Linked DNA regions of Homo sapiens: regions 1, 2, 3 and 4 are each linked to region 5. Evidence: promoter capture Hi-C in human tissues and cell types (Jung and others, 2019). All regions are on one chromosome and are shown on one strand. Each heading gives the region's core, a stretch centred on a gene start or on the middle of the fragment in contact. The rest is flanking DNA. Distances are from core to core; before and after follow the strand shown.

Evidence for each region. The method cuts DNA at HindIII sites, captures the fragments that hold promoters and counts their contacts. A contact is called where the count stands out against the background at its distance.
Region 1: a contact is called between the fragment with the promoter of RBM14 here and the fragment with the promoter of PC in region 5, in 1 of the 25 tissues and cell types used here (hippocampus).
Region 2: a contact is called between a fragment that was not itself captured here and the fragment with the promoter of PC in region 5, in 1 of the 25 tissues and cell types used here (dorsolateral prefrontal cortex).
Region 3: a contact is called between the fragment with the promoter of PELI3 here and the fragment with the promoter of PC in region 5, in 1 of the 25 tissues and cell types used here (mesendoderm cells).
Region 4: a contact is called between a fragment that was not itself captured here and the fragment with the promoter of PC in region 5, in 1 of the 25 tissues and cell types used here (dorsolateral prefrontal cortex).

Annotation. Positions count from the first base shown.
Region 1 is chr11:66,613,697-66,617,977 of GRCh38, forward strand. It overlaps RBM14 (RNA binding motif protein 14), which reads left to right and starts at 2,934. Exons shown (of 3, transcript NM_006328.4): 1 at 2,934-3,361. The coding sequence starts at 3,025. RBM14-RBM4 (RBM14-RBM4 readthrough) reads left to right here and starts at 2,934. Exons shown (of 2, transcript NM_001198846.2): 1 at 2,934-3,361. The coding sequence starts at 3,025. It also overlaps the pseudogene RNU4-39P. RefSeq lists enhancers at 2,410-2,519, 2,884-3,817, 2,950-3,179. The HindIII fragment of the contact is 10,275 bases long and covers 1-4,281 here.
Region 2 is chr11:66,636,998-66,641,006 of GRCh38, forward strand. The region is part of intron 1 of RBM14-RBM4 (RBM14-RBM4 readthrough); the gene reads left to right. It overlaps RBM4 (RNA binding motif protein 4), which reads left to right and starts at 1,706. Exons shown (of 4, transcript NM_002896.4): 1 at 1,706-1,755; 2 at 2,703-3,126. The coding sequence starts at 2,715. RefSeq lists enhancers at 1,157-1,870, 1,635-2,004, 1,871-2,582. The HindIII fragment of the contact is 5,623 bases long and covers 1-4,009 here.
Region 3 is chr11:66,464,158-66,468,520 of GRCh38, forward strand. PELI3 (pellino E3 ubiquitin protein ligase family member 3) reads left to right here and starts at 2,748. Exons shown (of 8, transcript NM_145065.3): 1 at 2,748-2,870; 2 at 3,971-4,123. The coding sequence starts at 3,972. RefSeq lists enhancers at 713-1,214, 1,215-1,714 and silencers at 2,666-2,875, 2,886-3,235. The HindIII fragment of the contact is 25,810 bases long and covers 1-4,363 here.
Region 4 is chr11:67,231,745-67,236,001 of GRCh38, forward strand. KDM2A (lysine demethylase 2A) reads left to right here. Exons shown (of 21, transcript NM_012308.3): 12 at 1-216. Among named protein-coding and RNA genes, the nearest start is that of GRK2, 33 kb to the right of the region's middle. The HindIII fragment of the contact is 4,272 bases long and covers 1-3,602 here.
Region 5 is chr11:66,955,512-66,959,832 of GRCh38, forward strand. PC (pyruvate carboxylase) reads right to left here and starts at 2,872. Exons shown (of 23, transcript NM_001040716.2): 1 at 2,811-2,872. RefSeq lists enhancers at 1,287-1,666, 2,830-2,879 and silencers at 2,530-2,629, 2,950-3,309. The HindIII fragment of the contact is 6,851 bases long and covers 1-3,819 here.

The DNA.
Region 1 (4,281 bases), core at 1,684-4,183, 340 kb before region 5:
GTTTCACCGTGTTGGCCAGGCTGGTCCCGAACTCCTGACCTCATAATTTGCCTTCCTCGGCCTCCCAAAGTGCTGGGATTACAGGCATGAGCCACCCCGCCCGGCCGCCGGCTAATTTAAAAAAAAAAAATTTTAGAGATGGATTTTGGTCGTTGCCCAGGCTGTCCCCAACCTTCTGGGCTGAGGCGATCTACCTGCCTCAGCCTCCCAAAGCACTGGGATTACAGGCATGAGCCACCACACCCAGCCTACAATTAGTTTCACCTGTTTCTTTTCACCTTTTAAAATGCAGCTACTAGAAAAATTAAAAGCACCTATGGGTCTCACTGTGTTAACGTAAGACCCCACCTGCCGGGTGGGGTGACTCACACCTGTAATCCCAGCACTTTGGGAGGCCGAGGCAGGCGAATCACAAGGTCGGGAGTTCGGGACCAGCCTGGCCAACATGCTGAAACCCCTACTAAAAATGCAAAAATTACGCCGGGCGTGGTGGCGTGCGTGCCTGTAATCGCAGCTACTCGGGAGGCTGAGGCAGGGAAAACTGCTTGAACCCAGGAGGCGGAGGCTGCAGTGAGCCGAGATAGCACCACTGCACTACAGCCAGGGTGACAAGAGTGAAACTCTGTCTCAATAAATAAATAAATAAAATGGCTATCCTTACTGGGTAGCTAGGGGTTTGCTGATATCCTGTTCTGGGAATACTGCCAGCAGTTTGGATTTCAGGAGATACCAGAGTAGTGCCCCTTTTCTTTCTTTCTTTCTTTCTTTTTTTTTTTTTTTTTGAGACGGAGTCTCGCTCTGTCGCCCAGCCTGGAGTGCAGTGGCGCGATCTCGGCTCACTGCAAGCTCCAACTCCCGGGTTCACGCCATTCTCCTGCCTCAGCCTCCCTAGTAGCTGGGACTACAGGCCCCCGCCACCATGCCCGGCTAATTTTTTGTATTTTAGTAGAGACGGGGTTTCACCGTGTTAGCCAGGATGGTCTCCATCTCCTGACCTCATGATCCGCCCGCCTCAGCCTCCCAAAGTGCTGGGATTACAGGCGTGAGCCACCTCGCCTGGCCCAAGCACATGCCATTTCAATGGCCTTGTGCTACACAACTCCCACCCTCCTATTCTGCTCTCTGTTCCAGGTTCTGGCCATATTGGGCTCTTTTTTTTTTTTTTTTTTGGAGACAGAGTCCTGCTCTGTTGGCCAGGATGGAGTGTGGTGGCGTGATCTCAGCCCACTGCAACCTCCACCTCCTGGGTTCAAGTGATTTTAATGCCTCAGCCTCCTGAGTAGCTGGGATTACAGGTGCCAGTCATCATGCATGGCTAATGTTTTGTTTTCAATTAGCAATAATTGCGCCTCGGATAAACCTCATTGGCTATGATACTGCCACTGCGCAAAGCTAATGTTTTGTAGTTTTAGTAGAGACAGGGTTTTACCATGTTGGTCAGACTGGTCTCGAACTCTTGACCTCAGGTGATCCGCCCGCCTCAGCCTCCCAAAGTGCTGGGATTACAGGCGTGAGCCACCGGGCCTGGCCCATACTGGCTCTTGACTCTTCCTTGAACCAGATTTGCTTCTGCCCCAGCACTCTTTGACTTGTACTTTCTGGCCGGCATGATCTTCCCTCAGAGGATGGCTTAGTTCCCTTGATTACTCCAAGTCCTCATCACCATCTAACACGCTTATGTTTTACTTATTTCTTGCCTGTTTCTCCCCACCATAAGATCCAAGAAGGTTGGGATTTCTGTCATTTTTTTTTGTTCACTGCTATATTCTTGGTGGTGTCCACATGGTAGGTGCTATTTGTTGACTGAACACGTAGGCAAATATTTCCCTGAGTTTGTCACATGTCTATGTTTTTGATGTTGTCTGCCATGCAACAATCTTATTTACATACTCAAATCTGTTTAAAAAAATTTTTGAGACGGAATCTCACTGTCGCCCATGCTGGAGTGCAGTGGCGTGATCTTGGCTCACTGCAACCTCCGCCTTCCGGGTTCAAGTGATTCTCCTGCCTCAGCCTCCCAAGTAGCTGGGATTACAGGCGCGCACCACCACACCCGGCTAATTTTGTATTTTTAGTAGAGACGGGGTTTCACCATTTTGGCCAGGCTGGTCCTGAACTCCTGACCTCCGGTGATCTGCTTGCCTTGGTCTCCCAAAGTGCTGGAATTACAGGCGTGAGCCACCGCTCCCGGACTAAAATTTTTTTTAAGGCTCAACTTTTGCTTCCTGCAGAATTAATTTTCTCGTTTATTAAACTGTTTATTATGAAAACCTTCAACATACAATAACGTCATTCCATTATTTCTTGACTGGGAATTCCATCAGGGCAGAGGCCTTTGATTTTTCACCGGCTGCCAGGACCTCAGCAACCCCAGGGAATGTTTCCAAAGAATCAATTAATGGCACGAGGGCTTCTCCGGGGCCTGCCTCAGGTCCCCTCGCGGTGCTCAGCACAGTCCTGGGAGCCGTTTGCCGACTCAAGGCGCCTGTCCTGGTTTCTCCCGCCAGGCCCGGCCTTCCCCCGTACACTCACGCGGCAACCCCCAGGCGCGGGTTTGGACAGGGCTTCCAGAATGGGAGGAGCCCTGACTTCCAATTGTACAAAGTTTTCCTGGGAGCCCGCCGGTCCCAGCCCCACCCGGGCCAGAGACCGCCTTACAGACTAGGCCTCTCTGCCGCCGGCGCCGCTCGCGCGCGTTCTCCTCTCTTCAGCCCTCCCTCTTCTTCCCAACCCCCTCTCCCGCCACGGGCTGTGGCGGTTGGTCGTCCCTTTCCCACCCCCTCAGCTAACGAGCGGGCTCTAGGCCCTCTGGGATTGGCTGTGCCTGAGCACATCTTCCCTCAGCGTTTCTGATTGGTCGCTGGACGCGCGGGATGCGAGTCCCCATTGGCTAGGCCAGGGCGCCTGCGCGGCGGGGTTCTCGGTCGCCAGCCATTCCTGAGGAGGACTGCCGGTCGTTCGGACGTCTTGCCTGTCGCTGGAGGAGAGGTCCGGGCTCTCCAGGAAGGTGGCTGCGGCGACAAAATGAAGATATTCGTGGGCAACGTCGACGGGGCGGATACGACTCCGGAGGAGCTGGCAGCCCTCTTTGCGCCCTACGGCACGGTCATGAGCTGCGCCGTCATGAAACAGTTCGCCTTCGTGCACATGCGCGAGAACGCGGGCGCGCTGCGCGCCATCGAAGCCCTGCACGGCCACGAGCTGCGGCCGGGGCGCGCGCTCGTGGTGGAGATGTCGCGCCCAAGGCCTCTTAATACTTGGAAGATTTTCGTGGGCAATGTGTCGGCTGCATGCACGAGCCAGGAACTGCGCAGCCTCTTCGAGCGCCGCGGACGCGTCATCGAGTGTGACGTGGTGAAAGGTAACGCGGAGGCGCGCTCGGGGGCGGGGGCGCGCTCGGGGCACTCTGCCTGTTAGCCACGCCCCTTACCCGGGGGTCGGTCACTGCGCGGTTGGGAGGGGTGGGGAAGTGCGCGGGAGCAGGTCGGAGGTGTTGGGGGCGCGTTGGGTAGAGCCACCCTCCTCCCCTGCGGTCCAGGAACCGTCCACCAAGTAGGAGGAAGCGGCTCTGGGTGGGTGCGGCGGCCACTGCGAGCCAAGCTACGGGGCCGGGGACGCGCCTGAGAGCCTTGCGAGTGTTCCGGGGGCGCGCCTTCTCCTGGTCTCCTGGGCCTGGCACCCAGCGGAAATTGGGAAGTGACGGGCACAAGCCGGATCATGAAGCGGGGAAGATTTCTCCACTTCCCCACTTCCTCTCCAGACGTCGGTCAGAGCAAGGGAAGAGGGAAAAGGTGGGGGCTGACGCCCCAAGGCCGCCCTCCTGTTCCCTCCCGATGAATGTGCTCAAGCGGAAGGTAACGGGGCCCTTGGACGTTTCTCGGGCTGGGGTCTTTTAGTCTTGTCTGGCATGGGTCTACTCATGGGCACAGTTACACGTGGGTACGAGAGGGGCCCCTTCCGAATCACTTTGGCCTTTCAATATTAGGTAGGTTAGGCGTGGCAGCTCTGTGCTTTTCTCCTCCCTCAAACTTGGGGTTTTTCTTTGGGCTCGATTTTACATCTGTCAACTGGAAACCCCAGCCTTTTGCATGTGCAAGAAAGCTTGTTTTATGAAGTCCCCTTCTGCGTAGTCTTTACATGCCAAGCCAGTGCCCTAGGGCAGTGTCATTCTTTTATAAGCTTGGTGACTTTGCAGGGGGGCATACTCTGGCTGAGGGGGTCCTGGGGAGGGGTCTGTGAGAGCTCTTCATTAAACAGTGGCTAAACACGGTTTACTGAATC
Region 2 (4,009 bases), core at 907-3,406, 320 kb before region 5:
CATCTGTAAATGTTATATTTTCTTTTTTTAGTTCCTTAGCTTTTTCTACCCTAGGATAAATTATTGACCAGTTTTCTGCAGTCAGATTCCTGAATCATGTTGGGTTTTTTTTTTTTTTAGTTTCACTCTTGTCGTCCAGGCCACTCTTGTCTTGCCTCACTGCAACCTCTGCCTCCCGGGTTCAAGCGATTCTCCTGCCTCAGCCTCCTGAGTAGCTGGGATTACAGGGGCCTGCCACCACATTGGGCTAATTTTTGTATTTTTAGTGGAGATGGCGTTCACCATGTTGGCTAGGCTGGTCTTGAACTCCTGACCTCAGGTGATCCGCCCGCCTCGGCCTCCCAAAGTGCTGGGATTACAGGCGTGGGCCACCGCACCTGGCCCTCGTGTTGGGTTTTAAAACCCACTCTTTTTTTTCCCCCCCAAACTCTGACTTCACCTTTCTCTTTATGAAACCGTTCTCTTTTTGGGGCGGGGGTGGTGGTGAAGAAGCTGCTTTGGATGGTGGTGTGTGGTACTTGTGTCATCTTCACTCCTGATGATCCCTTTCCTCATAAACTCTGCACTGCTTTTAGCCTGTTTTGTTCGTGTTATAAGTTCTTCCATCCAGTCCCTGCACTCCACCTTTTAACCCTTTTCAAAAGCTGCTTCGCAAAGGGTCTTGACTAAAGTTGCTTGCTTAATGAATATGAAGCAGCCTAAGGATGAGAGAAAACGAGGCAGCAGCTGGACCCTCTGGAGAATGTTACTTTGTATTTTGTTTACAGCTGGTTGTGACTAAGCTCTGTCCTCTAAAGTCGGTTCTAGGGGATTAAAACAGCTCTGGCTGATGGCGCCCAATAAAATAAAACAAAAAAACCTTTGCTGCTCCAGTTTTTTCTCAGGGTGGGGTCGGGGTATACTTTAAATCTCCATGGTCTCAGAAAGGTTTCTTCATCGCGGACCCTGGGAGGCTGGTTCCCAGAGGGAACTTGTCCTCAGCGTCTCCTGGACAGTGCAGCCTCCTGCCGGGCCTACTTCTGGAAGGCCATTACAGAGGTCCTTTCACCACCTGTGAGAGGTTTGATTTTGGGGGAGCTCCGGGACTCTCAAGGCTACAGTGTGGACTGCTGGCCCAAGGAGAAGGTTGGTTTCCTGAAGTGGTGGGTGGTGGGTTGGGGGGGGTCTTCGTTGTTTTTCTTCCCTGGCATGTGCCTGCATAAGCTATTTCCACAGCGTCCTGGCCGCGAGGGGGGGTGGTGCTTGGGAGGTTAGAGGGAGACACCTAGAGTGAACGGCAAAATGGAGCGCGGAATACTGTCTGGCTGTGCACGTGGAGGTGGCGAAATGTGGAAGCTTAACGAAGTTGGCGCCATGAAGCTAAAGACTGCTACCCCGGGGCTCTAGCTCGCTCCGCCTAATGGCGGGCCGCACCCCGCCGGCGAAGCCCACGTTTGTAGGTCCGCCCTCACGCTGATCTCTTGCCCAATCAGCGAGTTCGGCTTCGCGAGGTTGGTGCCCATTGGCTTTCGCATAAAAGCTCCGAGGTTACAGACGTTTCCACCTCTTGCCGGCCTCTTAGGTAATTGGCGTCCGTGGTAACCAATCAGGAAGAGGATCTGAGGGAACGCCGGCCTTTTACTTTCTTGAGTGGCCAATCCGGTTGTAGGCTCACCTCCCCCTTCTACTCAGAGCACTGCTGCGGCCGCCGCCATTTTAGCGTTTTGTCAGAAGCGTCCGCGCCGCGAGGAGGAGGCCCTGCTGGTTTCTGTGCGGGTGAGACTCCGAGCCTTTCCACTGCCTTTCTTGTACTGTGTTAAATCTTCTCTCACTCCCTTGGGCTTCGGGGGTGTCCTGGTAGGTCCGCAGTCTCCACACCCGTCACTGAGAGCCGACCTCGGTCCTCGGCATTGCGCGGTAAGCCGGGAGCAGCCCTTCCCCCACCGCCCCCTGAGAATACCTTGCTTTTTTTCGCCCACCCTGTCCCGCGCCCGACATGGCTGCTCTTGGAGCCTCGAGATTTCCACTGGGATAACCCCCTTTCCCTTATATCTGACAGTTACATTCTCGTTTCGGGAATTTCTCGGGCCGTGAGACATCGTCTGGTTAATGAATCTGAAGCTCTTTTCCGCGGCCGCGCATTTCAGTGTTCGGCAGGAGCTAGGACGGTGCCCCGAGAGAGGCGTTCACCACTCCAGTATTTCCTTTATCTCCCACTCCTCGCTGTCTGATCCGAGTCGCGCGTTCATTACTTCCAAAGGAAACTCAAATGTAGCTATTACAAGGCCCATTTTCCCGGAAATGATGGCTGCTTTGGTTCCTACGTGAGGAAAAGCCTGTTGATAATTTCAGGCAGGCAGTCAGCAAGCCTAGTAGACTTTTGTTTTCTGTTGTCCTCCTAGTGGATAGAAAAGCCTAGTACCCCCATTTCTTCATATGCTGTCTTTCATGCCCATTTCTGTTGGAAGGTATCGGTTCTTACCAAACCCTTTGTCTACTAAGGACCTCCCTATTGCAGACGTCTTCTTATTCTTACAGGTTCATGGCGGCTACTATAGCAGGCCTTAGTTCACTCCCACTTCCATTTGATTATTGTGTGGAGGTGTGTGTGCAGGCGTGTGAGAGAGAAAACTGGAAATATACATTAGAGTGAAAGTCGTTGTCTTTTGTGAACGGATGTGGGCCTGAGGTCTTTTGTCAGATGTCTTGTTTTTCTCTCCCAGGCTCTTGTCAGGATGGTGAAGCTGTTCATCGGAAACCTGCCCCGGGAGGCTACAGAGCAGGAGATTCGCTCACTCTTCGAGCAGTATGGGAAGGTGCTGGAATGTGACATCATTAAGAATTACGGCTTTGTGCACATAGAAGACAAGACGGCAGCTGAGGATGCCATACGCAACCTGCACCATTACAAGCTTCATGGGGTGAACATCAACGTGGAAGCCAGCAAGAATAAGAGCAAAACCTCAACAAAGTTGCATGTGGGCAACATCAGTCCCACCTGCACCAATAAGGAGCTTCGAGCCAAGTTTGAGGAGTATGGTCCGGTCATCGAATGTGACATCGTGAAAGATTATGCCTTCGTACACATGGAGCGGGCAGAGGATGCAGTGGAGGCCATCAGGGGCCTTGATAACACAGAGTTTCAAGGTGAACCACCCTCTTTGGGTAGAGGGCTGAACACAAGGCTGTGTGCAGAAAATGGTTGGATAAGTAAAAGGAGAGGTTTGGTAAAGATAACAGCTGTTGGCTGGCTGGTGATGAAGAAATAAGTGTGGGTGATGGACTTCTTATGATGTAGAATGCATGGGACTTAGGGGCTTTACCTTAGGCAAATGTCTCCTGGAGAAAAGCCACTCACCTTTTATTTGGAGCCCCTACGGCTTTTGTGCTTATCAGTGCAGAAACCCTTTTCTTTGAAGGCTTTCTGAGTTACTGGGCCTTTTTTATTTTTTATTTTTTTGTAGTAGAGCACAGTTCAGAGTTCCTCACTCTGAATTTATTGCCCTCAGCACAGGATCAGAATTCTGCATTTTACGTGAAGAACCTCTCAAAAACATGTCAAGCGACACTTATAGGACCAGAATCCTTGTTAAGCTGTCCTACCTTACACAAACTCTTTAAAGGGTTACAGCTCTTGTTGCTTTTATATTATACCTGTACCAAGGGATTGTATTTTGAGTTTAAGGCCACTCTAGAATTACAAGGCTGATTTTAGGACTTCCTGGGGAGGAGGCACTGGGGTTTTAGGGGCGGTAATGACTGTCTTTTCATTGGTTTGGGGGGCTGGACTTTATAAGATTTTGGTGAATAGAGCACTTAGATTTGTGTTATCTTGGAGTCTTAACCAAATGAATCTTTTGTGCCTGGAGGGCAGCATGGGTGATATGTGGATTGTCACTTCATTTGGAAGCATCTCAAATCCCCAGCATTTTGAATGCCTACATGTTGCTCAAAGGAAATGCTTGTTAGAGCATTTTGGATTTTGAATTTTCAGATTTGGGATGCTAAAATGGTACGTAGAACGCAAATA
Region 3 (4,363 bases), core at 1,498-3,997, 490 kb before region 5:
TACTGGGTATATACCCAAAGGATTATAAATCATGCTGCTATAAAGACACAGGCACACGTATGTTTATTACGGCAATATTCACAATAGCAAAGACTTGGAACTAATCCAAATGTCCAACAATGATAGACTGGGTTAAGAAAATGTGGCACATATACACCATGGAATACTATGCAGCCATAAAAAATGATGAGTTCATGTCCTTTGTAGGGGACATGGATGAAGCTGGAAACCATCATTCTCAGCAAACTATCGCAAGGACAAAAAACCAAACACCACATTTTCTCACTCATAGATGGGAATTGAACAATGAGAACACATGGACACAGGAAGGGGAACATCACACACCGGGAACCGTTGTAGGGTGGGAGGAGGGGGGAGGGATAGCATTAGGAGATATACCTAATGCTAAATGATGAGTTAATGGGTGCAGCACACCAACATGGCACATGTATACATATGTAACAAACCTGCACGTTGTGCACATGTACCCTAAAACTTAAAGTATAATAATAATAAAATTTTTTAAGAAAGAAATAAAGTTTCTATTTTATTCCTTTCTTTGAACCAACAGGGACAAGATCTAGATTGAAGAGAGAAAAGGGAGGGTTGACAAAGGAATTTCAAAGCAATACTGCAAAATCCTATTCACCACAAGTATCATTATTATTCCCATTTTACACATAAGGAAACTGAAGCTTAGTGAGATTAAGAAGCTGGAGTTCTTGGAGCAGAGCGCTGGATTTAGAGCCAGAAGCCAAGGTTGGAACTTAGGCATCTGCTACTGGTGTCCTAACTCTCCCTTCCTCTCCCTTACTTGGGCAATCCTGGTGTCGGGCCCACCTCAGCCTCCCTGAGGCCTGATGGTCTGGCTGTGCCACCATGCAGCTCCAATCCCAGTACTGCCCCAGGAGAAATCCCTGCCTCCTCCTCCAGTGAGTCTTGGTGATCCCTCTCAGACCTTCCTCCATGCAGTCCAGTGTCAGGTGGAAGCACTGGGGCTCCTGTGAAGCATCAGCTCCACATCTGCCTGGCTTGTGACCTGGGGCAAGTTTCTTCTTCTGCCTGAGCCTCAGCTTCCTGGTGTGTAAATTGGGGATTATAACAGGGATTCAGTATATATTCACTGAGGACCTGCTCTGGCAGGCAATGCATTAAAAGCTGGGGGTACACAAGGGAGTGAGGCTGTCCCAGGGTCCCCGTGCACACCCAGCACAATGGACGCCTCTGGTGGCATCAGTGAGGGCAGCTATCCTGTGTCACAGGGTTTGTGTGACCTGCAGCCAGCAGCCCAGCGGTCTGGTGGTGTCCTGCTTGGTGGAAGTCTCGCAGGGAGATTCTCTGTGACTAACGAGTGTCTTTTCCCCTAAAGGATGTGCCGTCGGCTGCTTTCTTGTTTCATCTAGCCGCTGGGCCCCAGAACAGTTGGCAAAGCAGTTGGTATCTTTGGCTATTTTTAGGTGGAGGAGTTAGCGGGGTGGATATAGTAGGGCCCCAGGGGAGTCTGGTAGATGGGGAACTTCAGGTGCAACAAGTTTGTGGGGGTGGGAGTGGCAGCGGCTCCCTCTCAGGAATGTTTAGGCAAACTAAACATGCATCCTTCATAATGGAAGTCAAAAGCCACCTCCTCTGTGCAGTCTTCCTTGATTTTCTCATTAAACACCCCCACCGCCCCCCACAAGACCAAAGACTTGATCTGGAACTATAATCCAGCCTTTATAGTTCCAGACCAAGAGTACTGAGCAATAGGGACCTTACCTGATGCAGACAAGGTTTCTCTTCTGCACCTCTGAGGCTCCATCCCTAGTCAGAACGACAAGGTACGAAGTTAGGAGTTGAGACTGAAGCCACTCATACAGCTGAGATTCTCTCTTGGCCCGTTTCTAGCAAACTACAACAAGCAAGTCACTTTTGTAAATCTATTTCCTCATCTGTAAAATGGGCAACTATCGTGCCTGCCTCCCAGGATTAAAGTAAAGGGTTTAATTTGCTCAAAGCACAGCGCACAGCGCCTAACGTAGACTGATAGATCTCTCGCAAGCCCCAGGCCCAGAAGGGGCGGTGCTCCCCCAAAACTCTCTTTCCTTTGCAGCACAGCGGGGGGTGTGTGCATCCTGGCGGAGGGGAGGGGACTGAGGGGAGGGGAATGGGGGGTGCCCGAGCTGGGCTGGAAGACAGGTCTGCGACTCTGGTCAACTGCAGCTGCTTTCCCCGGCCTCCACCGCTGCCGCACACCCCCTTTGCCTTTAGCATTTTCCTCCTCTCCTCTAATTGCGTGGCGTCCCCAGATGGTAGGCGGGGTGTCGGAGCTGGGGGTGCGTAGTCCCGGGCCTAAGGCTAGGGAAGGGGCCTCCAGCGCCGTGTGAGGGCCCTGACCGACAGTGGGGAGGGGCGCCCATGTCTCTGGGAGAACCCCGGAGTCCCCGGAAATGGAGGCGGAGTTTGGGGAGTCTGAAATGGGGGAGGGGTCGTGTAGACTACGGGGGAGTCCTGAGCCGGCTAGGAGGGGCAAGGGAGTCCCTCAGACGGAGTGGAGAGCGGGGCTTCCCTGGTCAGAGGGCGGTACCAGGGGAAGGGCGTGGTCTCCTGCGAAGGGGCGGAGCTCCGCCTACGAAGGCTGAGCATCGCCGCAAGAGGCGGAGTCTGGAGCGAGGCGGAGCTCTCCTAGGGGCGGGGAAAATGGGGCGGGGCCTCCGGACAGGGGGCGGAGCGTGGCTGTTCGCGCTCATCCCCCTCCCCCGGCCCTGGGTGTCCCCGTGACGAGGCAGCGCGGAGCCGCCGCGGGCCGGGCCCATCCCGCCGCAGCGGCCCGGGGCCGAGCAGGGGCTAGGCGGGGAGGGAGCGGCGCCCAGCGGGGCCCGGAGCGTGGCCAGGTGAGGCCGCCGGGGCGGAGGGGGCGGGGGCTGCGCCAGGCGGGCCCCGGCGGGCGCGGGGGGCGTGTTTGCGTGTCTGGGGGTGGTGGAGGGAGTGGGTCCGAGGGCGGGCGCCGGTGGCTGCTGCGCGCCCGCGCGTCCCTGCGGTCGCGGGTGCGGGTGGTCTCTGCGCCGTCCGGGCCCGGGGCGTGCGGGGCCGTGCACGCGCGCGTGTTGTGCGGAGGGGCCGCCGGGTGTGGACCTGCGTAGGTGCTGGGCCGCGGTTCCCGTTCTGCCCGCCCGGGGCGCAGGGCGCGGGCCTGCCCCGGCGCGGTCCCTCTGGCGCGGGGATGTTTTCCAAACGGGCTGCCTGCGGGAGACGGCTGTGCTGCAGCCCGAGCTCGAGGGGGGAGCGCCGCCTCCGCAGGCCTCCTGAGACCCGGGCGGCTGGGGACGCAGACAGACACCTGAGGGAGGGAAGAGCGCGCACCCAGGAGGAGTCTATTGGCCTACCCGCAGGGGGAGGCCGAGATGGGGAGACTGAGGCAGATGGTGAGGCGGAGGCGGGCAGACAGGCAGAGATGGGGAATGGGGGGAGAGAGACGGCAAAAAGGACAGCGGCTGGGAGGACAGAGAGTCATTGAGAAAGCAGATGGACAGACAGAGGCCTAGACCTCAAAGGGGCAAGAAAGATTCAGATGGACAGGTAGATTCAAAGAACCTGTCAGAGAGGCTAAATCAGAGGTCCAGAGGCTAAGAGCTATAAGCAGGAACTGAGTCTGAGATGAGGGGTAACGGCCCCCAACTCATTGGGTGCCCCGCTTTGAAGCACATCCCAGACTGGGATCTTGGCCAAAAAGCAGCCTCTGGCCACCCCAAGTTGGTCCATCTCTTTGGCACCACTGAATATCCTGACTCTCTTCACTGTGCCACCCCTCCCTGGTATCCCAGCAACCTCGGGCAGTTTAGAGGAGGCAGAGGGGAAGTGGTTGCCATAGCAGTAGAGGCGGTGAAAGGTCACCCTTGCCTTAGCCTAGGCGGCCCTGCAGCAGGCTGCAGCTGGAATTGAGCCGGGCTGGGGTGGGAACCTACAAAGCTCTTTTCTCTCCCACTCTGCCCAGAATGGTGCTGGAAGGAAACCCTGAAGTGGGGTCCCCCCGAACCTCAGACCTCCAGCACCGGGGGAACAAGGGCTCTTGCGTTCTCTCCTCTCCCGGTGAAGATGCGCAGCCAGGCGAGGAGCCCATCAAGTATGGTGAACTCATCGTCCTGGGGTGAGCATCCCTGGCCTAGAAGGGGTGAAGCACCAGACACCCACCCAACGCAGCCAGAACAAGGGCCCGACCCCTCCTCCCCCCACATAGGGCCTTCAGCTGTTTGTCCCTCCTCACCTTCCTAGCTGAAAGACAAAATTGACCAAACCCACCTCAATTCATAATTATTATTTTATCTTCCCATTTTTCACAAAGTACTGTGACAACTCTAACCACCCAACTTCCTGATCAGATGAGAAA
Region 4 (4,257 bases), core at 217-2,716, 270 kb after region 5:
GCTGGGGACTCATCTTCTGACTGTAGCCGGGGCTCCCACAATGGACAAGTGTGGGATCCCCAGTGTGCTCCCCGAAAGGACAGGCAAGTGCATCTGACCCATTTTGAGCTTGAAGGCCTTCGCTGCCTTGTAGATAAGTTGGAGTCTCTGCCACTGCACAAGAAATGTGTCCCCACAGGGATAGAAGATGAAGATGCTCTCATTGCTGATGTAAAGGTAAGGGTTTGATGTGTTACATGACAGCTACTGATCCAGCTATGGCAGTCAGCTTCCAGATTCAGAGGGAGAAAATATAGGAATTTTGGGTGATCTCTGGTTCAGTCAGAGAGAAGTTAATATGCATGTGTGTTTGTTATTGCTGCTCAGTGTTTTCATTACTAGAATGAGGTTATGTCCCTGTTTTGAAAATACTAACATTTATGTGTTCATTGAAGACTTATAAATTTAGTCTTAAACATAGGTTTCAGGCTGACCCCAAAAATAAAGTGACCCAAAGAAAATATTTATATAAGAAATGTTACATTAAACTTAAGTTACCTTGAGATAAAACTCAGGACAAAAGTGACTGATAGGAGTCTCATCCTAAGCAGATTGAGAGAAATGAAATTGTTCTATGCTGGGTTAACGTTGAGTAGCTTTAGCCTCTTTAGATTCAAATTTATCTAGCATCAAGACTTAAATACATTGGGAAAAGCATCATTTTAAAATAATTCATCCCATTGCTTTATCAAGTTTTATGTTTATTTATTTTTTAATTATACTTTAAGTTCTAGGGTACATGTGCACAACGTGCAGGTTTATTACATAGACATACATGTGCCATGTCAGTTTGCTGCACCCATTGACTCGTCATTTATGTTAGGTATTTCTCCTAATGCTATCCCTCCTCCAGCTCCCCTTCATATTGTATATTTTTCTTAAGGAATCCAGACTTGAGCTTTTTTTTTTTTTTTTAATTTTAATTAATTAATTAATTTATTTGAGACGGAGTCTCACTCTGTCGCTCAGGTTGGAGTGCAATGGCAAGATCTCGGCTCACTGCAACCTCCACCTCCCGGGTTCAAGCAGTTCTCGTGCCTCAGCCTCCTGAGTAGCTGAGATTACAGACACGTGCCACCATGCCTGGCTAATTTTTTTATATTTTTGATAGAGATGGGGTTTCACCATGTTGGCCAGGCTGGTCTCGAACTCTTGACCTCAGGTGATCTGCCTGCCTCAGCCTCCCAAAGTGCTGGGATTACGGGCATGAGCCTCCACACCCAACCTTGAGCTATCTAAACTGGAGGAAATTATTTTAAGTCTTTCCTCCTAAGTAACAATTAATGTGAAGACCAAGAATTGTAAAGCTGGAAATAGCAATTTTATTTTTAAATCAGTGTTTGGAACAATGGGTATGTATATTAGAAAGCTAATCTACAAGTTGTAATGTTATTTTGAAAACCTCACATAGATTATTTTAAGCTACTTTTAAGCCATTTTATAAATTTAGGGGGGCCAGGCACAGTGGCTCACACCTGTAATCCTAGCACTTTGAGAGGCCAAGGTGGGAGGATCACCTGAGGTCAGGAGTTCGAGACCAGCCTGGCCAACATGGTGAAACCCCATCTCTACTAAAAATACAAAAAAAGGCTCAGTGCGATGTCTCATGCCTGTAATCCCAGCACTTTGGGAGGCCGAGGCAGGTAGATCACGAGGTCAGGAGTTCAAGATCAGCCTGGCCAAGATGGTAAAACCCCGTCTCTACTAAAAATACAAAAATTAGCTGGGTGTGGTGGCAGACACCTGTAATCCCAGCTACTCAGGAGGCTGAGGCAGGAGAATCCCTTGAACCTGGGAGGCAAAGGTTGCAGTGAGCCGAGATTGCGCCATTGCACTCCAGCCTGGGTGATGGAAGTGAAACCCTGTCTCAACAACAACAACAACAAATCCATTGGAGTAGTTTAACTAAAGTAGCTAAATAAGGAGATTTGAGGTGAAAGGGTGGTACAATGGTATACCAAAGGAAAAAGTAGAAAGATTTGGGTTAAATATTAAGCAGAGTCAGCAAGAAGAGAGGGGAGTTAAGAAGAGACATCTAAAGAGGAGGCTTAGCATTATGAAAAGTGTCCGGAGATAGCTTGCTTGTGTTTATCAGGGACCACTGAAAAACGTGACTGCCATCACTGGCTAAGATATAGTGGCAGAGGCCAGAGCATGAGGAACAAGTAGCCAGTGAGATGACTACACAGGCCGACAGTGTTTGAATTCTCCCTCCAGAGACTTGTCCACAGCTTCTCGTTTACCCAAAACCACAGTCAAAATGTAGCTGACGTCAGAAGACAACAGATTTAGATTCCAGCTCTGCAGGTGTAGTTTCACTTAAGATCAAATAGATTAATTATTCCTATATTTGATCAGTTATGCTAAATCTCAGAAAAGATATAGCAAGCTTAGAGCTTGAATACCTTGAGAATCTAAGCATCACTCAAAAGAAAAAAGCATTAGATTGGGTAGCTGCTGAATCACTGCACAGCTGGGGACTTTCAAGTGCTAGAAAACTTGGTGCTTATAGCACTGATGGCTATACTTCAGTGGGGGACAAAGCTAGTACAGTTTACCCTTCCTGCAGAGAAAGGAATTGTTTGCTGTTGTAACCTATCTGGCTTTCAGGAATAATTAGTAGAAGAGATGAGGGGAAAAGTGGTAGATGAGATATTCATAATATTCCAAGGAAAAATAGTGCATTTCAGTGCTGTGATAAAAGGGCTTTTTTTAGGTTCTAAGGCGTTGAAGAACAAGTCATAGAATATAGAGTTGGAAGAGGATTAAGTGAAAAAATAGGACATTAAAAAGTACTGACTTGGGCTGAGCCCAGTGGCTCACACCTCTTGTCCTAGTGCTTTAGGCGGCAGACGCAGGCAGATCTCTTGAGACCAGCCTGGGCAACGTGGCGAAACCTCACCTCCACAAAAATACAAAATTATCCAGGTGTGGTGGTGTGTGTTTGTGATCCCAGCTACGTGGAAGGCTGAAGTGGGAGGATCACTTGAGCTGGGCAAGTTGAGGCTTCACTGAGCTGTGATCTCACCACTGCACTCCAGTCTGGGCAAAAGAGTGAGACCTTGTCTCAAAAAGAAAGTAGGCCGGGCATGGTGGCTCATGCCTGTAGTCCCAGCACTTTGGGAAGCTGAGGCGGGCGGATCATGAGGTCAGGAGATCAAGACCATCCTTGCTAACATGGTGAAACCCCGTCTCTAGAAAAAATACAAAAATTAGCCAGGTGTCTTGGCGGGCGCCTGTATTCCCAGCTACTTGGGAGGCTGAGGCAGGAGAATGGCGTGAACCCGGGAGGCGGAGCTTGCAGTGAGCCCAGATGGCACCACTGCACTCCAGCCTGGGTGACAGAGCAAGACTCCATCTCAAAAAAAAAAAAAAAAGAAAAAAGAAAGGAAGTATTGCCTTACCGGTAAACTGGTAAAGCTATCAGCGTGTGTATGAGGTTCTGTTTGGGAGGGGTTGTGGGTAATGTTGACTCTTGAAAGTGTACATAGGTAGAATAGGGTTTTCCTACTATGAGAATTTTTTTTTTTTTTTTTTTGAGACTGAGTTTCACTGTTTTTGCCCAGGCTGGAGTGCAATGGCGCAGTCTTGGCTCACCACAACCTCCACCTCCCAGGTTCAAGCAATTCTCCTGCCTCAGCCTCCCGAGTAGCTGGGATTACAGGCATGCACCACCACCCTGGCTAATTTTGTATTTTTAGTAGAGACTGGGCTTCTTCATGTTGTTCAGGCTGGTCTTGAACTCCTGACCTCAGATGATCCACCCGCCTCTGCCTCCCAAAGTGCTGGAATTACAGGCGTGACACCGCGCCCGGCTGCTTTTTTGTTTTGTTTTGTTTTGTTTTGTTTTGTTTTTGAGACAGAGTCTTGCTCTGTCACCTAGGCTGGGGTGCAGTGGCGCCATCTCGGCTCACTGCAGCCTCCACCTCCTGGGTTCAAGTGATTCTCCTGTCTCAGCCTCTGAGTAACTGGGTCTACAGGCACGCACCACCACTCCAGCTAATTTTTGTATTTTTAGTAGAGACGGGGTTTCACCATGTTGGCCAGGCTGGTCTTGAACTCCTGACCTTGCGATCCACCTGCCTTGGCCTCCCAAAGTGCTGGGATTACAGGCGTGAGCCACTGCGCCCGGCCAAGATATCCTTAACATTTCTAAAATTGGAAAGTTGTATTCTTGATATATGTTGAATAAAAAGGTAGGACATGTAACAGTATGTA
Region 5 (4,321 bases), core at 1,622-4,121:
CAGAAGGCGTTATGACACATGAGGGTACATTGGGGTAAACTGAGGAAACTTTGGATGACAGCCTAATTAATTCAAAAAGCAGATACTGAGCAACTGTAGTGAACAAAGCCCCTTCCCTAAGAGCAGGGCACAGCAGGGTGAAGGAGCCATTAGTAAACAAATGACGGCTGCTTTCAGGGAGCTTACCAGAACACCATGGGACACAATCTGCAGCTCAGGCCTGCAGCTGGGCCCTCAGAGCCCTGTCTGCCTTTTGGGCTTTTTTTTTTCTTTTTTTTTGACAGGGAGTTTCATGCTGTCGCCCAGGCTGGAGTGCAGGGGCGTGATCTCAGCTTACTGCAACCTTCAACTCCCAGGTTCAAGCAATTCTCCTGCCTCAGCCTCCTGAGTAGCTGGGATTACAGGTGCCCGCCACCAGGCCTGGCTAGTTTTTGTATTTTTAGCAGAGAAGGGGTTTCACCATGTTGGCCAGGCTGGTCTCGAACTCCTGACCTCAGGTGATCCACCCGCCTCGGCCTCCCAAAGTGCTGGGATTACAGGCATGAGCACCGCGCCCAGCCCCGTCTACCTTTGCATCTAATCTTGCTTCCTCAGTTTGGTTTCCAGTCACTGACTTACCTGCACCTTAGCAAATCCTAGTGCCCTCACCTGGTTACATCTCCTGTAGAGGCCTCTTCCCAGTGACCAATCAAGTTTCTTACACCCAACAGTGAAGCTGTTTCCCCCACATTCTCCTTCCACCTTCCTCAGCCTTCCTCTTCCAGTTCTAATTGCTTGAAACCTCTGTAACTGGCCAGGCATGATGGCTCATGCCTATAATCCCAGCACTTTGGGAGGTCGAGGTGGGCGGATCACCTGAGGTCAGGAGTTCAAGACCAGCCTGGCCAACATGGTGAAACCCCATCTCTACTAAAAATACAAAAAATAGCCAGGTGTGGTGGCATGCGCCTGTAATCCCAGCTACTCAGGATGCTGAGGCAGGAGAATCGCTTGAACTCGGGAGGCGGAGGTTGTGGTGAGCTGAGATCACACCGCTGCACTCCAGCCTGGGCGACAAGAGCGAAACTCCATCTCAAAAAACAAAAACAAAAAAACCTCTTTAACAAAACCTCTCCAGAATAAAACTTTCTAGCTGCTGAAATCCAATCACTGTTTCTCCACTGCAGCGGCATCAAAAAGAGGTCCACAACTCACCTCCTCCACGAAGCCTTCCCAAGCCCATCCCCTTCCAGGCCATTTCTCCTCTCTCTCGCTTTAGTGTGTGGTTTGCTGTGATTTACTGGCCTCTACTGAACTTCCTCTTCCATGTCCTCCTAGGGCCAATACCTCACCCACTAGGCTCTCTACAAACATCTGCAGCAGGCTGCCTTGCTGCTTAGGTTTTGTTTATTTTCTCTCTCCCCCAATGGGTTTGTCAGCAGTTGCAGGACAAGGATTGACCTCATCGCCCACGCTGTCTCTCGGCCCAGTGTAGGGATAGGAACACTGTAGGTGTGCAAAAGAATGTGATTAAGAGTTCAACAGTTAAGGAGAGCCTGCAGGCAGGAAGCTGTAGCTGCAAGTGAGAGAAATGCTGAGCACATCCACCCCCAGCACAAGTGTTTGCATCACATACAGGGAAAGGGTGCCTTGGGGGAGGCCAGCCAGGGCTGATGGTGGCAGTGGGTACGGGAGCAATAGGGAGGCAGATGGCAGGCACTCTGGAGGTTCTGGTTGTCATCAGCAAGTGTTGGTACTTCTCTGAGCCTGTTTTCTCAGCTGGAGAACGGGTAAGGAGCCCAGGCCTACCTCTTCTCACAAAATAAAGACACAATCTGATTTTTTAGAATTTCAGACGAGGCACGCCTGTAATCTCAGCACTTTGGGAAGCCAGGGCAGGCCGCTCGCTTGAGCGTAGGAGTTCGAGACCAGCCTGGGCAACATGACGGAACCTCGTCTCTACCAAAAAATACAAAAATTAGCTAGGCGTGGTGGCGCCCGCCTGTAGTCCCAGCACTGGGGGACTGTGGCAGGAGGGTCGCTTGAGCCCGGGAGGTCGAGACTGCAGTGAGCCGAGATCGCGCCACTGCACTCCAGCCTGGGTGGGTGACAGCAAGACCCTGTCTAAAAAAGAAAAGAAAACAAAAGAATCTCAAAGTTGCCAGGGACCTAGGGACTTGGCTTCCGACTCTGATGCGCTTTGTAAACTACTAAAAGCTGGAGAAATAAGGGGCTGAGCCCAGCCCCACCTCCTGAATGAGCGGCCTTGGGCGAATCACTGCGTCTGGGCGCCTGGAGCTTCCCCGTCTGAAACAAAGTAGAGGATCCTACGGGAGGCGGAGTGCGAGAGCAAGGAACAAGGAAAGCCCTCGCCTTACACGCCGCGGCTTCCTGCAGAGCTGAGCCACATCCAGTACGATGGGGACAACTTGGGCTCCCGATCCTGACAGACTTGGGTTCGAACCCTCAGGGACCTCGCGCGAGGCGCTTTAGTCAGTTTCTCCATCTGCAAAATGGGCCCGAGAGCAAGAATGAGGCAGCCCGCAGGCGGACGCTGCGGAGGGGCGCTCGGGGGCTGCAGCCGGGGGCGGGTCCGGGGGCGGGTCCAGCCGGCCGAGCCCCCGCGCGAGGGGGAGGGGCGCCGTCCGCTGCGTCGCGTCGCGCACCGCGCACAGCCCGTCGCTGTCTCCTCCAGCCGTCACTCGCGGAGCCCGCGCCGCCTTTGCGCGCGCGACCCTTACATAAGCGTCCCTCGCAGCGGTGCCGGCGCACGTCCACCCGCTCCGACCCGCCGCGGGAAGAGGACCGTGCGGAGCGCGGCGGACACTCACCTCCTCGCCGTCGCCAGTCCTCGCCGCCGCCTCTACCGCTGCTGCCTCCACTGACAGAGAACAGCTGCGGTCTCCGTGCAACCGAACTTGCTGCAGTCCCGGCCCCGCCTTACGGACTTCCTATTGGCCCAGACAGCCCAACCCCTCCCGTTATTGGGCAGTGTTCTCCGTCACTCCTCGCCCCTAGGCTCTGGACTCCTCCCTGTGCCCGCCTGTCCGTCACGTTTAAGCCTTGGCGCCCCACGTCAGCCCCGCCCCTCCCGTCCCCGGCGAGCGCCTGGATAAGTGGCGAGGCTGGGAGAGCCCGCCCCTGGCGCACCACCGCCTACTCCCTTGTCTCCGGAGCCTCACGTGGGCCGCCGGACCCTAGCCGACGCCCGCAATAGGCGGAAGTGGCCGGGCTGTGGCTCGCAGTTATTGGCTGTCGGCGGGGGTGGGGACGTTCGATTCATTCACCCGAGTAGCACGTGTCTCCCGAAGCTGCAAGCACAACAGTTCGCACTGGGGCTCAGGCATCCCGGCTAGACGCAGATACGCGCTGGCTAGCGGAGAAGAGGTCGCAGGAAAAGCTAACGTTAGCGAAGGGCAGGAGGAAGGAGAAGGCGCTTGTGCCACACGGGTTACATGACTATGTCCTTTAACAGCTGCGTAGATGATGATGGGGGTCTACAGTACGTCTGTGTGACCTTGGGCAAGCAACTTAACCTCTGAGTCTCGGTTTTGTCATCTGCAGAGCGAAGCTACTCAGGACCTAGGGGGTTTGGAAGCCTTGTTTGAGACACAAGACACTTGACAAGACCCAAGACACTTGTCAAAGAGGAAAGCTTTGACAAGTGGAACAAGTGACTGAGGCATAAGTCTCTGTCATCGAGGCTTATTAATCCAGTTTGAGGGCGTGCTCGGGAAAAACACGAACCACAGACACATCCGTGGTTGTTTTTCCGAAGAGGTTTTCGGGAGGTTTAGTATTTATGCATTTCCTTAAAGGGGGAATGAGGGGAAGGCATGTAGGAAGAAGGGCAAGTAGGCGATTAGGACAATAGTTACATTCCTATGGGACTTTAGCTAATGCCCGGTAAATCTACGTAAGATGAGATGAATGTCTGAAGAGAAAAAGAGAGTAAAGGAAGAGTCAGTTATGCAGATGTCTCTGAGTAGGTAGTTTTGACTTTGTTCTGCACCTGGGAAAATAAGCTTGTAATGACATTCTTATTGTGGAATTTTTAGGAGCTAGACTTAGATTGTAGACCTGAAGCTACAATTGACCTGTCCTTGTTTATGGGAGGCCAGCAAGAATTTACTTGTGAATGATCTGTGGGGGCAGCCCTTCCCAAATGCCTGAGGTTTTTACCTTTCCGTGTGGATATGGCTGATGCCTAATGCTAGTAACAGCTATTCTTTTGGAAGAGGGTGTTGCAGTGACTCAGCTTCAAGGCTTAATCTTCACTTTCGCATGAATTGGGGCGCTGGGGGGGGGTCCCGAGATTTTTACTTTCATTCACCGCTGCGTA